Regions from separate parts of the Homo sapiens genome. Here regions 2, 3 and 4 are each linked to region 1. Evidence: promoter capture Hi-C in human tissues and cell types (Jung and others, 2019). All regions are on one chromosome and are shown on one strand. The core of a region is centred on a gene start or on the middle of the fragment in contact, and the rest is flanking DNA. Distances in the headings are between cores, read along the strand shown.

The links. Contacts are between HindIII fragments. The study calls those that stand out against the background at their distance.
Region 2: a fragment that was not itself captured here is called in contact with the fragment with the promoter of FAM83D in region 1 in 2 of the 25 tissues and cell types used here (bladder and spleen).
Region 3: a fragment that was not itself captured here is called in contact with the fragment with the promoter of FAM83D in region 1 in 6 of the 25 tissues and cell types used here (adrenal gland, hippocampus, liver and 3 more).
Region 4: a contact is called between a fragment that was not itself captured here and the fragment with the promoter of FAM83D in region 1, in 1 of the 25 tissues and cell types used here (stomach).

Annotation. Positions count from the first base shown.
Region 1 is chr20:38,924,989-38,928,166 of GRCh38, reverse strand. It overlaps FAM83D (family with sequence similarity 83 member D), which reads right to left and starts at 1,750. Exons shown (of 4, transcript NM_030919.3): 1 at 1,242-1,750. The coding sequence starts at 1,724. RefSeq lists enhancers at 88-177, 1,563-1,662 and a silencer at 1,773-2,132. The HindIII fragment of the contact is 31,187 bases long and covers 1-3,178 here.
Region 2 is chr20:38,984,995-38,988,172 of GRCh38, reverse strand. The region is part of intron 4 of DHX35 (DEAH-box helicase 35); the gene reads right to left. Among named protein-coding and RNA genes, the nearest start is that of DHX35, 24 kb to the right of the region's middle. RefSeq lists an enhancer at 42-161. The HindIII fragment of the contact is 4,319 bases long and covers 1-3,178 here.
Region 3 is chr20:38,965,453-38,968,630 of GRCh38, reverse strand. All of the region lies in intron 1 of DHX35 (DEAH-box helicase 35), which reads right to left. Among named protein-coding and RNA genes, the nearest start is that of DHX35, 4.7 kb to the right of the region's middle. The HindIII fragment of the contact is 5,080 bases long and covers 1-3,178 here.
Region 4 is chr20:38,885,913-38,889,090 of GRCh38, reverse strand. The region is part of intron 2 of PPP1R16B (protein phosphatase 1 regulatory subunit 16B); the gene reads right to left. Among named protein-coding and RNA genes, the nearest start is that of FAM83D, 39 kb to the left of the region's middle. RefSeq lists an enhancer at 1,993-2,493. The HindIII fragment of the contact is 4,902 bases long and covers 1-3,178 here.

The sequences.
Region 1 (3,178 bases), core at 501-3,000:
ATAGCCAGGGAGCTGGGCACTGCCAGTCAGCAAGCAACCTGACCATGGCTCCAGACCAAGGTGTCTGCCACGACACTCTATGTGCCACACCCACCTGCAGGCTGCCTTCTTCCTCCTTGATCCCCAGCACCCTGCTGCAGCTTTATCGAGGCTGGCAAGCAGACAAGACCTCCATTGCACCCATGACCATGCCATACTAAGAGTCAGACAGTAGGACCAAAACCCACTATGAATACAGAAGCCGATCTAATGCAAATGTATCTGCATTTTAGGAGACCACTGCAATCTGGCACAGACCCAGCCTATGGAAAACAAACCCCTTGCCCCAGTTTCCCCTCCAGTCTCTGGCAGTAGAAAAAGCGGCAGGGGGCCGGGTGCGGTGGCTCACGCCTGTAATCCTAGCACTTTGGGAGGCCGAGGCGGGTGGATCACCTGAGGTCAGGAGTTCGAGACCAGCTTGGCCAACATGGAGAAACCCCGTCTCTACTAAAAATACAAAAATTAGCCGGGCGTGGTGGCGGGCACCGGTAATCCCAGCTACTTGGGAGGCTGAGGCAGGAGAGTCACTTGAACCCGGGGGACGGAGGTTGCAGTGAACTGAGATCCCACCACTTCACTCCAGCCTGGGCAAAAGAGAATCTGTCTCAAAAAAAAAAAAAAAAAAAAAAGACAAGAAAGAAAAAGCGGCAGGGCTCTCACTTTGCCACTCTCGTGTTTATCTGCTTTTTACAGCAAAAGATGCATGAAAGTAATTAGCAATAATAATTGCTTCCTAATGCCCCGTAGTTGTCTCTGGAGACCATCTTTCTGGAACTTTCCCTGCGTAAGTTCTTTGGTAATGAGTCTCCTAAGAAGCTCCTGAAAGTGGGATCTAGCGTTGGCTGACAGACAGGGAAATAGGCAATTTTCCAAGTTTGATTTTAACTGAAATTTGGAACTCAGAGTACTTCTGGTCCCTCCTTCAGGGATATGAACGTTAGGAGATGGAACCCGGGCACAATTCGCATCCTTGGGAACCGAGGCTTTCCCACTATCCCCTGCCACGAGGAGCGGCCCGGGGGATCCGGGGGAGACACGCAGAGTGGGGTGTGAGTCGGAGACCCTGGGACCACCTAGCCCGCGCGCGCTTCCGGTAGGGCGCAGAGGAGGTAGTGGCCCCGGCCCGTACTCCCAGCAGGCCTCAATTTCCCATTCTTGAAGGGGGTCTCCCGTGCGACCCAGGGCCCTGGAGGGCCGCTCACCTCTCGCGCCGAGCGGAGCTGCTGGCGCAGAGCGTCCTTGCAGCCGTAGGGGCCACCTTCGCCAGCGCCGCGGGGCTGGAAGTGCGTCTCGACACGCGTGGCGCCGCGGTAGGCGCCCTGGTAGAAGGCGGGCCAGCCAAGCTCCAACAGCGGTGGCTCCAGGTCCGACTGCTCGGGGAAGTAGGTGCCCGAAGAGCAGTCGTGCGAGGAGCCGAACGAGTCCTCGGCCGCCGCCGCCGCCGCCGCGCCCTCCTCTCCCGGCCTCTCCGCCGCGCGCAGAATGGCGTGCACCTCATCGGGGTTCAGGAAACGAGCCAGGCGCTCGCGTCGCAGGAAGGCCGCGAAGGCTTCGGGGCCGCCCGCCACCAGCTCCTCCAGAGCCAGGCGCCGTGACTCGCTGAACAGCTCGGTCGGGTTGGGCGGCCCGCACGGCGACAGGCAGGCGGCGGGCACCTCGTCCAGGCCCTCGGACAGCAGAGCCATGGCGGCGCTCGGACTCGACAGCCCTCGGACAAAAACCGGCGTGCAGTCCCGCTTTATAGGCAACCTTTGAATCAAACAGGCCCGCGCCATTGGCCGCACCTCCCCGCCTCGGCTCTCCCATTGGCTGCTTTCCTTCCAATAGCGGAGCGAGGCGGGGCGCAAGCCTCTACGGCTCCGCCCCCTGATGCGTTATTGGCTGCGATGCTGGGCTTGCTAAGAGGAATTTAAACTTGCAGGGGCGAGGCGGGCCGCAGAGCAGGGACAGAGCGGGGAGAGCCGAGCTCCTGGCCATCCCAGCGCGCCCCCTGCCGGTCGCCCCGCTGCGCGGCCGTGCAAGGCCAGGGACAGTCAGGCCTAGACAACGAGGAGAGGCAGGTGCCGACTCCCGGAGACTCTGGCCACGCTGCTCCTAGGCTCTCAGTGCTTTGGCATGGCCAACCATATCGCCTTTATCACCTGCCTTTAACCATGTATTCATTCATTCAAAGAATACCGGCTCATCGTATTAGGACTGCTCCTTTGATTACACCCTCGGGTAGTCTTCTCTCATTTCATCGATTTTTGCCTTGTAAAACCCCAACCAACCGTGGTTATACCCTACTTTCCACCTGCACCCCGGCAGCCCTACAGGGCTGAAGAAAAAACAAAAAGAGCGTAACCATGCTTACTGACTGGTCATGTTTTAAATTCATAATCCGTAAGACTGCCTGCTAGGAGGCCGGGCGCGGTGGCTCACGCCTGTAATCCCAGCACTTTAGGAGGCCGAGGAGGGCGGATCACCTAAGGTCAGGCGTTTGAGACTAGCCTGACCAACACGGTGAAACCCCGTCTCTACTAAAAATACAAAAATTAGCCAGGTGTCTTGGTGTACGCCTGTAATCCCAGATACTCGGGAGGCTGAGGCAGGAGAATCACTTGAACGCGGGAGGCGGATGTTGCAGTGAGTCGAGATAGCACCACTGCACTCCAGCCTGGGCGACAAGATCGAAACTCCATCTAAAAACAAAACAAAACAAAACAAAAGCAAACAAACAAAAAAACTGCCTGGTAGGCCGCATTTCCCTCATTCTCTCTACCTTTTCCTCTCTGACAGCTTGTCTTCCATGTCAGCAAGAACACAGAAACAGTAAGAAGGGAACGTCCACGTGCGGCCATCTAGTCTACCTTCCTGTCTGCATCTCTGCCCGTATACTGGGCATTGATGAACTGTGCCTGTGCCCATCCAACCCCAACCCCTCTGCCTGGGCATTTCCAGCCCCTCTACTACTCACCAGCATCGCTCCAGCAATCTTCTTCTTTCTCCTGGAACATCAGCTTCCCTCTTTACCGATTCATTTCTATCAGCCTACAAGCATGCTGAAATATTTTTCATCTTAAAACAACCCTCTCTTGACCCTACATTCCTCTAAAGCTCCCCATCTCACTTCTTATTTTTGCAGCATAGAATCTCAGAT
Region 2 (3,178 bases), core at 293-2,792, 60 kb before region 1:
AAATTATTCAAGTTGAGCCACAAATTCAGCTCTAAATTTGGTGGCCAAAGCAAAAAGGAAAGTAAAAGAAATGACAAGATTCACCCTGTTCCTAAACAAAGGGCACACTAACCAGGGACAACTTTTCATCTCCACGCTCGAAAAGAAAACCCATCCCCCGGGACCATGAAGGCAGAACAGGAATTACCATATTCAAAGCTGGGCCAGTTTCATTTTCTCATCGAAGGCAAAAAGCTAAGTTTCAAGAATGAGATACCTGAAACAGTTCACAACTGTGTCCCAGCTGCCAAAGCCACTGAGAGGGGAAATACAGACAAACTCAGGTTTAAAACAAAGGGGGCAGATGAGTGGATGAGAAGATCAATAAAAAATCCAAGGTAGCATAATAAAGTGAAAGACAAAATATGTAATACATTATGAAGACCATAAACTATAGACAAAATTTCATCCATCAAAACATAACAAATAAAAAATGAATGCAGGAAAGAGAAAAATGAATCCAACAGCAAGATCTCTGCATTCCCCCAAGAAGGCTATTCAAAAGTTAACTTATTAATAGAAAATATTTAAAAGAATGAACAAGCATAAAAGTGGAAGAGCAATAATGAATATCATTTAGTTTAATTTAAAAGAAAATAGGACCGGACGCGGTGGTTCACACCTACAATCCCAGCACTTTGGGAGGCAAATCACCTGAGGTCAGGAGTTCAAGACCAGCCTGGCCGACATGGTGAAACCCCATCTCTACTAAAAATACAAAAAGTTAGTTGGGCATGGTGGCATGCGCCTGTAATCCCAGCTACTCGCAGGAGGCTGAGGCAGGAGAATCACTTGAACCCGGGGAGGTGGAGGTTGCAATGAGCCGAGGTCACACCACTACACTCCAGCCTCGGTGACAAAGAGACTGTGTCAAAAAACAAAAAAAGAAAGAAAAGAAAGTTTAGTATTCACCACCACATAAACTACCTAAATGAAAAGAACCAAAGGGAAGCAATATTAATAGAGATTTCCCAGGGCCCAGCACACCAATCCCCACAGAAGGAAGGAGTTCAGTCTCCCTCTTTCACAGGTGAGACAACCTCCCCAGCACCCACGCAGTTCCCAAGTCCTGACTTTAGAACATGGCTGGCACATGTGGTGTCCTGAGACAGAGCTTACTGCTCCAGCCTTTCCACCCCAGCAGCCCCAGGCTCAGGAGGGCAGAGGCTCCCTGCCCTCAGCTTCTGAGCTAGGCACACCCAGGCGTTTCCTGCCCATCAGTGTTTAAGACACTGAAGAGCAGATGAGGATCAGAAGCAGCTCTGCCTGGTGACTTGAAATTATAGAATGGGGAGGCCAAAACCAAATCAATCATCTGGCAGCTGGTCTATATCATGTAGGCTTTCAAAACGTCTTATGAAACCAGAAAGTTATCCTACATTGCTCTGCCTCTGGTGGTTGTATTTCCCAATGACCAGCATTTCACCAGGACAGATTTGTTATTGTTACTGTTCCAATTTCAACCCTACATGTCGTTATATTATAAATCTCAGAATATGGTACAGGTAGAGAATGTGTGCATAGAGATACTAGGAACTTATGGAGAAAATAGGCTTATAAGAATGAGCATACATAAATATATATACACCTACGATGTACCCACAAAAATTTTAAATTTAAAAAAATGAGCATAAATTAACAAATCTCTGTAAAAATATAATCATTTTATGGGTCTATAAGGTAAAAGCCAAACCTGTTTATTCTTACTCCTTCACTATTTGAATACATTTGCTATAAAAAGTATGTATTTTTATTTTCAAACTCTATTTTTAAATTTTTATTATTTATAATCACACAAGGTTATATTCTCTTGGCTTTTTAATAGATTTTTATCTCTATCACTTTAGTTCTGCTCCCAATAACCTCATCAACTAGACTGGACAAATACTATCTTTTTGACAGACCAAAAGGAAAGGGAGGTAAAAGACCAAAAAAAAAAAAAAAATCACTGAGCACCTACTACTGGCAAGTGCTGTGCTCTAAGCTTTCACAAATTTGTATCTCATTAAATAGACACACAGCCCATGAGGTAGACGAGACACTGTTGTATTTACAAATGAGGAAACTGAAATAAGACAGGTGTTAGAGCTTATTCTGAATCACAGGTCAGGGAGGACCTACCTGGTCTTGAAGTCAAACCCAGACCACATGAGTTCAACAAGCATACTCACTACTAATTGCCTCTCACAGAGATCAAGCAACAGCTTATGCAATCTGTTTTTAGGCTCTGAGATTGTTTGCAGATTTTAGTCTGCACATAAAGTACTTTCTGAGATGTAGCATTTCAAACTTGACAGCTCTATTAATATATTACATGCTCTTTGCTCTTTCAAGAGAAAGCTGTGGTTTCATGGAAGTTATCCATGGCTACAAATTTGGAACTAAGATGCAAACTGATTAAGAGCTGGGATTCCAAACCACAAACAGGAAAAATTGTTCTAATTTTAGGTAACTGAGTCATCTTTTAGTGACAAAAAAGATTAACTCCAGCAGCATTTGCAACTTGGTTTCCAAACTGTTAGCCCCATTTTCATACAAAAACACAACACACACACACACATAACTTCTAAAACTGTATAACTTCTTAATTGAACACCATTAGAAAATGAACTTTGGGCAAAACAACGACACAATAATTAAAACTCAGTACAGAACAAAAATAACTTGGGGAAATAGAATTAATTGTTTGTCCAGGTAAAGGCCACAAACTAAAGGCCCTACTTCCTTTTCTTTAAGCCTTTTTTTTTTTTTTTTTTTTTGGAGATAGGGTAAAGGTTGGAGTACAATGACACGATCATAACTCACCGCAACCTTAACTCCTGGGCTCAAGAGATCCTTCTGGCTCAGCCTCCGAAGTAGCTGGGACCACAGGCAGGTGCCAGCATGCCCAGCTAATTTTTTTAAAAATTGTTTTGTAGAGACAGGGTCTTGCTATGTTGCCCAGGCTGTTCTCAAACTCCTAGGCTCAAGCAATCCTCTTGCCTCGGCCTCCCAATGTGCTGGGAATACAGGCATTAGCCACCACACCCAATCTCTCAGAGCTAATTTAAAAACAACAAAAGAATTCAAACATACTATCAACAAAAAACTTATGGTGGCTCAGACTTCTACACAGTGATCCTCAACGCCAAAAGGCAGT
Region 3 (3,178 bases), core at 195-2,694, 41 kb before region 1:
GGTTGCAGTGAGCCAAGATCGGGCCCCTGCACTCCAGCCTGGGCGACAGAGCAAGACTCTGTCTCCAAAAAAAAAGAAAAAAGAAACGAGATGGCAGTCCCACTGGGCTCCAAATTGGCCACTCAGAACTGTGTATTACAGAGCACAGTGTCTTTACTTCTGGCCTCCATGTCCATGTTATTACTGAATTCTTAACAGAAGTGAAAGAAACCCAGTGGGAATTAGCTGAGGTAAAAGGATGAATCTTGTTACTGTAGGATGGCAATAAGGCTCAGAGATGACAGAAACTGGGCACTCAAAGCAGCCATGGCTTTCTCCTTCTCTCATCTTGGCACGTCTTGCAGGTTCCTTCCAGCCCCTTAGGTTGGCTACTGTACAGGAGCTGGAAAGACGGCTGCCGGCAGTGCCAGGGTTCACGCTTACAACTCCTCTACCAATCATTCATCGTGGTCCAGCAAGGACCAGCAAGGATGGACCAAGGGCCCACTCCATGTCACGTACCACTCTAAGCACTAGAAACACTGCAGTGAACAATACAGATGCCAGCCCTACCCTCACGGAGCTCACTTGCTTTTTTAATTCTTCCTCTCAGTGGAAAGTAACTTGGTGCATGAAGTGGTCATAAGTGCTATGGAGAGAAATAAAGACAACGTAAGGGGGACTGGGAGTCCCAGGTATGTGTTGTAATGGGGGGTGGGGGAGGCTCTTTTATACTGGACAGACAGGGACTGACTTCTCCCAGCTTAGGTCCAATCCCCACCCCAATACAATCAACCATGGCCAGTGGAATGGGATGAGGTAAATGACAGTCCCCATTGGAACCATGGAATCGGGAGTGGATAGATGGGAAATGCTATTCTCAGTAACCGCCATGCTGGGCAGATTAAACAAGAGATCTTCACCCCGGCTTCTTGCTAATAACAATGACAAACTGGTGATCATGATGGTGAAGAATAGGGAAGCCATATCCCATCATGAAAACCTGTTGAAGGTTCCATACAGTTTTAGCTCAAACAGAAAAACAACTCAGGAGAAACATAACTTTAAATTTTGTGAGCAGCTTCCATAACTTTTCATGCTGATTTGCTGCTGTAACTCTAGGACAGAACTAGGAGTAATAAGTAAATGACACAGGGTTCAGAATTCAACTCAATGTAAGGAAGATATTTCCAAAAGGTCACACTTTTCAGCACTGGAGTTTGCTGCCTTGTAAATGAATAAAAATCCTCCCTAGATCAAACACATGCTATACAGCCTCCTGCTGGGGCACTACAGTGATAATAACCAATAACCATCATCTCCTAGGTCTTCTGAACTCAGAATCTGTGATGCTAAGTGAAAGCACAGGAGCTTTGTAACAAGAATATTCAGCTCAGTGACTTACTTTTACACTTTTTAGGGTTCTCAGATTGCTTCAACAATCTGATAAAGGCTATGAACTCCCTCTCCTAAAAAACACACCAGAATTTACCAGAATATAAAATTCGGGGGGGTCCGTAGACCCCCTAGAGCTAAGTTTAGAATCACTGCTTTAGATCTCTGACCCTTTTCCATTTACTTCCAGGAACAGAGTTGTGTTTCAGAGGTTCAAGATGGCCAAAAATCAGGTAAGTGGGGCACTGTCATGTTGCTTTTGCCAAAATGTTGACCTTCCTTTCAACAAGACAAAAGATGGAACAGGACCTGGAACAATGCCTGTCCTCAAAGAGACAGGCTTTCTTTCCTTCCCTTCTTGTCACTACATCTTAATAATTCCTTGTAATTGTTACTCAAGAAAACAATGACAAAGAATACCTTATCCTTTTCTGCTGTGTTTTTGTCCTGAATTCCTGCCTTTTCAAATCATGTTTTAAACCTTCATATCCTCTCTGGAATATTTTAACATGTCTTTTGTACTACCGTATTCCTCCCTTGTCTCTAACCTACAGCCCCAATCTATCTCTTCTATTATCAGCTTTTGTTTTTGGAGATGGAGTCTCTGTTGCTCAGGCTGGAGTGCAGTGGCGAGATGCCAGCTCACTGCAACCTCCGCCTTCCAGGTTCAAGCGACTCTCCTGCCTGGGCATCCCGAGTAGCTGGGATTACAGGCACGCACCACCGCACCCAGCTCATTTTGTATTTTTAGTAGAGACAGGGTCACACCATGTTAGCCAGGCTGGTGTCGAACTTCTGACCTCTGGTGATCCACCCACCTCGACCTCCCGAAGTGCTAGGATTATAGGCATGAGCCACCACGCCCAGCTGAGCTCTTTTATAAGAACAGCTATGTCAGTTGATAAACAGTATACCTTCTCCTCATAAAAGACTTCCTTCAACCAAACCAGAACATCAGGGCTGCTTTCCCTCTATAAACACCCCTCTGTGGCTGCCTATGATTGATTTTTCCTTGAGCGTACGCTCTATGCTTAAGGGAGTAACAACTTTATAACTTTTGCAAACTATGAACATCTTCATTTCCCTATCTTAACAAGGCTGATATCCCTAATTCCTCATTCCCTTTAACTTGGTTTTTAAAAATTTTACTGGTGACCCATTAGTGGGTTATGAAATCAATGTAGTATGTCATACCAGCACTTTTTAAATAATGAAATAGAATAGAAAGCATCAGAGCACATTCCAGAAAGCAATACTGTTTATGAACAACTTTTTCTTCAGTTGTGTATGTGTGCTATATCTTACTGTGGGTCAAGTCAAAAAAAGCTTAAAACCTATTGTAAAGTTTTCGTCATGCACATGGTCAACAATCATGAAATATTTATCAAATGAGCAAACGAAAATGGGCAGGCCCTTCGGATCCACGTGTACTTGCAAATTAAGTAAAAGATTTTTGTAGAAAACTCTCAGGCAGGTCATACAAGGCCCTTAAGTCACACTCCTAAGGTAGACACCACAAATGGGTATCTTAAGGTACCCAGACATGCTATTGTTAAAATGTTTTAAATCATTCATTTAAAACAACACATAAAATTTTCCCATTCAGATCTGGATATTAGGCTTCTTAAAAAAAAAATTGGGCAACTCTGAACCCATATGATAACAATTAGGTGGACCTGAGTACAACTCCCTATTTTAGAAAGCATATGTAAGCTCTACTGTAGATCTCCACTGTACATACTATCCAGTGTATGCACACTCTGCCACAGTCCCCACCACTCCCTATTACCTCCAGTAAGCAACT
Region 4 (3,178 bases), core at 495-2,994, 39 kb after region 1:
GCTCTGGCAGATGTGATGATTTTTACTAAAACTGTGGGTCCCCACAGCAGGTGATGGCTCACCTATGGGTGTCAAATGCCCCTTCTTTGGCCCTACTGAGCCCTGGGGAAGGAGGGTAGCAGAGGTTTTAACCATCCCCAATCCCTAGAATTTTGTCTAGGGGTGTGTGTGTGTGTGTGTGTGTGTGTGTGTGTGTGTGTGTGTGTGTGTGTGTTCAGGGATTCTGGGTGGGCAGGGAGGCCAGAGTGAACAGCATTGACAGCCTGGAATCCCTCTTGCTTAGGATAAGCCCCCTCCCCTTATCACTGTGACCCTCCTCCCTCCTCCTCTGCCCACCACCATTCAAGCCCCAATTCTCCCCTGAACCCACGTGCAAAGGGAGAGAAGAGAGGAGCTCACCCACCAGCCCTGCAGGCCCCTTCCCAGGCTTGGCAACTGGGACCCCAGCTCTGGCTTTGGCAGGGTGATCTCAGGCCCTCCAGCTTTGCCTCTCCCCGTGGATGAGGAGTCCAGGGGGCCAGTGGGACGAGTCCACCCAAGCCCCTGGCTCCCCTTCCAGGCCACACCTCTACTGTCCCTGTCCAAATGACTCCGAGCCTGCTTGCAGGGCCTCAATAGGATCTTCCCTGGATCCAGCTTCCCAAAGGTAGACTGTGCAGTTACTGGGCAAGCGGACCTCTAGGCCAGAGTGGTGAACAGAGGGTGGCTGTTTGTGGGGCAAGTGGACGAACTTGAATACACAAGCTGGCTTGTGTGGGTGGCCCTCGTGCCATCGTGCTGATGAAGCCAGGCGTGCAGGCCCAGGCACTGCAGACAGGATACATAGGCTGGCCCTGAGCCCTCTGAGCCTCCTCCCACCCCCAGCCAAGTCTAGCTCCCTGTGAAACAGAAGCCAAAGTCCACATCCCCTAATCCCCACCGTGGACACTATCTCCACGCTACGGTTCATGCCATAGGGCAGGGCTGAGGTGGTTTCCTCGTTGATTTCTGCTGTGGGGAAACAAATTAGAAGTGAGCTGGGCAGGGTGAAGAGAAGACTATCCCTTCTGCAGGACAAAAAAACCCAGTCAGCAACTCCAGGGGGTGCCAGGGGAAAAAGAAGCTGGTAGGCAAGGGAGGAGTCCTCAAGGGCTCAGGAGCAGTGGATGGGGTGGGGGTACAGCCCCTCAGCTCCATCCTCATGAGGCCCAGCTCCCAAACCACAGTCCCAGTTGCACCCTAGGCCTCAGTGTGAACCGAGGCCCTGCGTGAAGGGGAGGTTGAGGTCACCACCCAGTAAGAGGTGGCATCTCCAGTAGACCTGCCCAGTATGCATAGCCAGTATGGGTTAAGCATGACAGGACTTTGTCCAGTACGGTCAGATCCTTTGGCGCTGTCCTGACCAACATGGTGCCACTAGCTACATCTGGCTATTACGGCTGCTTAAACGAATTAACATTCAAAATTTAGTTTCTCAGGCATGCTGTGCTCAGTTTCAAGTGGTTGGTGGCTACCATATTGGAAAGTGTAGAAATAGACCATTTTCATCTTCTTGGAAAGTTCTATTGGACGGTGCTGCTTTGGGGCATTATAAATGAAAATTAGCTCTGTCACAAATTGTTAAAATCCTTCCATGGCTCCCCATTGCTCTGGGAATAAAGTCCACAACTCTTCCTATGGCATACAAGTTCTTGCGTGATGTGAGCCCTGTCTGCAGGTCTCTAGCTTGCACAATTCTAGGTGGCACCATCCACATCATGGTTTATAAGACTGGCATCTTCTGGAGCTGTCCAGTACACAACTTGCTCAGCTGTGCACAATCATCCTACCTGCTAACCTCACCACTCTCATTTCTTAAACTCCAAACACTTTCCACAATAGTCTTTTGTCAGTTACAGAGTCACATCACTTCTTGTGGCCTCTGAGATTTTGCATAGTCTGTTCCCATTGCCTGGGAGACTCAATCATTCATCCATCCATCCACCAGCATCCATTCATCCATCCAACCACCATCATCCATGCATCTGCCTCTAACACTAACACACACACACACACACACCTTTGCCCCACTCCTCGTCCTTTAGGTCTCAGCTTAAACTCCCCAGGCTCCTGTTATATATACCCATAGCTCCTATACATCTCATTTACAGCCTTGTCACAACTACAATTATATAACTAATTATGGGCTTTGAGTGTATCTGCCCATTGGACACTAAGCCCCACAAGGGCAGAACCATGACCTGGTACTTATGGCTCTATCCCTAAAGCCTGGTACACAGTGAGTCCTCAAGAACTCCTCTAGGACCTTGACCCAATTGGCAGCCCTCTAGTTCAGTCCAAGGACAAAGCCTCTCCATCACTGAGCAAAGCAGATCACCCTCAAGGGCTGACTCCAGAAGACTCATGTCTGTAGCAGGCAGTCCTCTGCTCGCAGGCATCTCCTACAGACCCAGTGCCTGGTGTTAGCCTCAGGACCATGTAGGAGATTATGGCAAAGCCACTGATCACCAAGGCCCAACCTGCCCACGGGTGAGTGGGGGTGCCCTGAGCATTACAGATGGCTTTTGGGAGAGGAGCAGTGGCCACTATATCCCTGACTAGGATGGGTTTCTGGATGGTTCTGCTCACATTAGCTAGGGGTTCAAATCCCATGGGGTGGGTAGCAGAATAAGCTTCCTGTCCAGGAGATACTCCTGGAGGCAGAAAATAAGCATCAGCTGCCAAAAGCAGTGTTTGTGCACAGTAATTATTGGGGTGTTCTCCATGCGGTGGAGGAATCCAAGTCATGTAATTACCCTGATGTTGGGCAGTTATTTTCAGCCCAAGAGGTGGGACAAATGATTCCCATCTCTAGGAAGCCCTTAGTACTCATGAGCCAAGGCTGCCTCAGCAGTGCTACTTCCAATGTACCTAGGAGCCCAAGGCCTGGCTCTGCACCTACTCACAGGAGCAAAGTCCTCGGCGCCCAGTGCACAACCGGGCTCCCTGCCTCTAGAGTTCAGTAAGAAAATTATTATTATATTAATAATGTTTTCTGGCCAGGCACGGTGGCTCATGCCTGTAATTCCAGCACTTTGGGATGCCAAGGCATGTGGATCACTTGGGGTCAGGAGTTCAAGACCAGCCTGGCCAACATGGCGAAACCCTGTCTCTACTAAAAATACAAAAATCAGCTGGGCGTGGTGGCGCACGCCTGTAA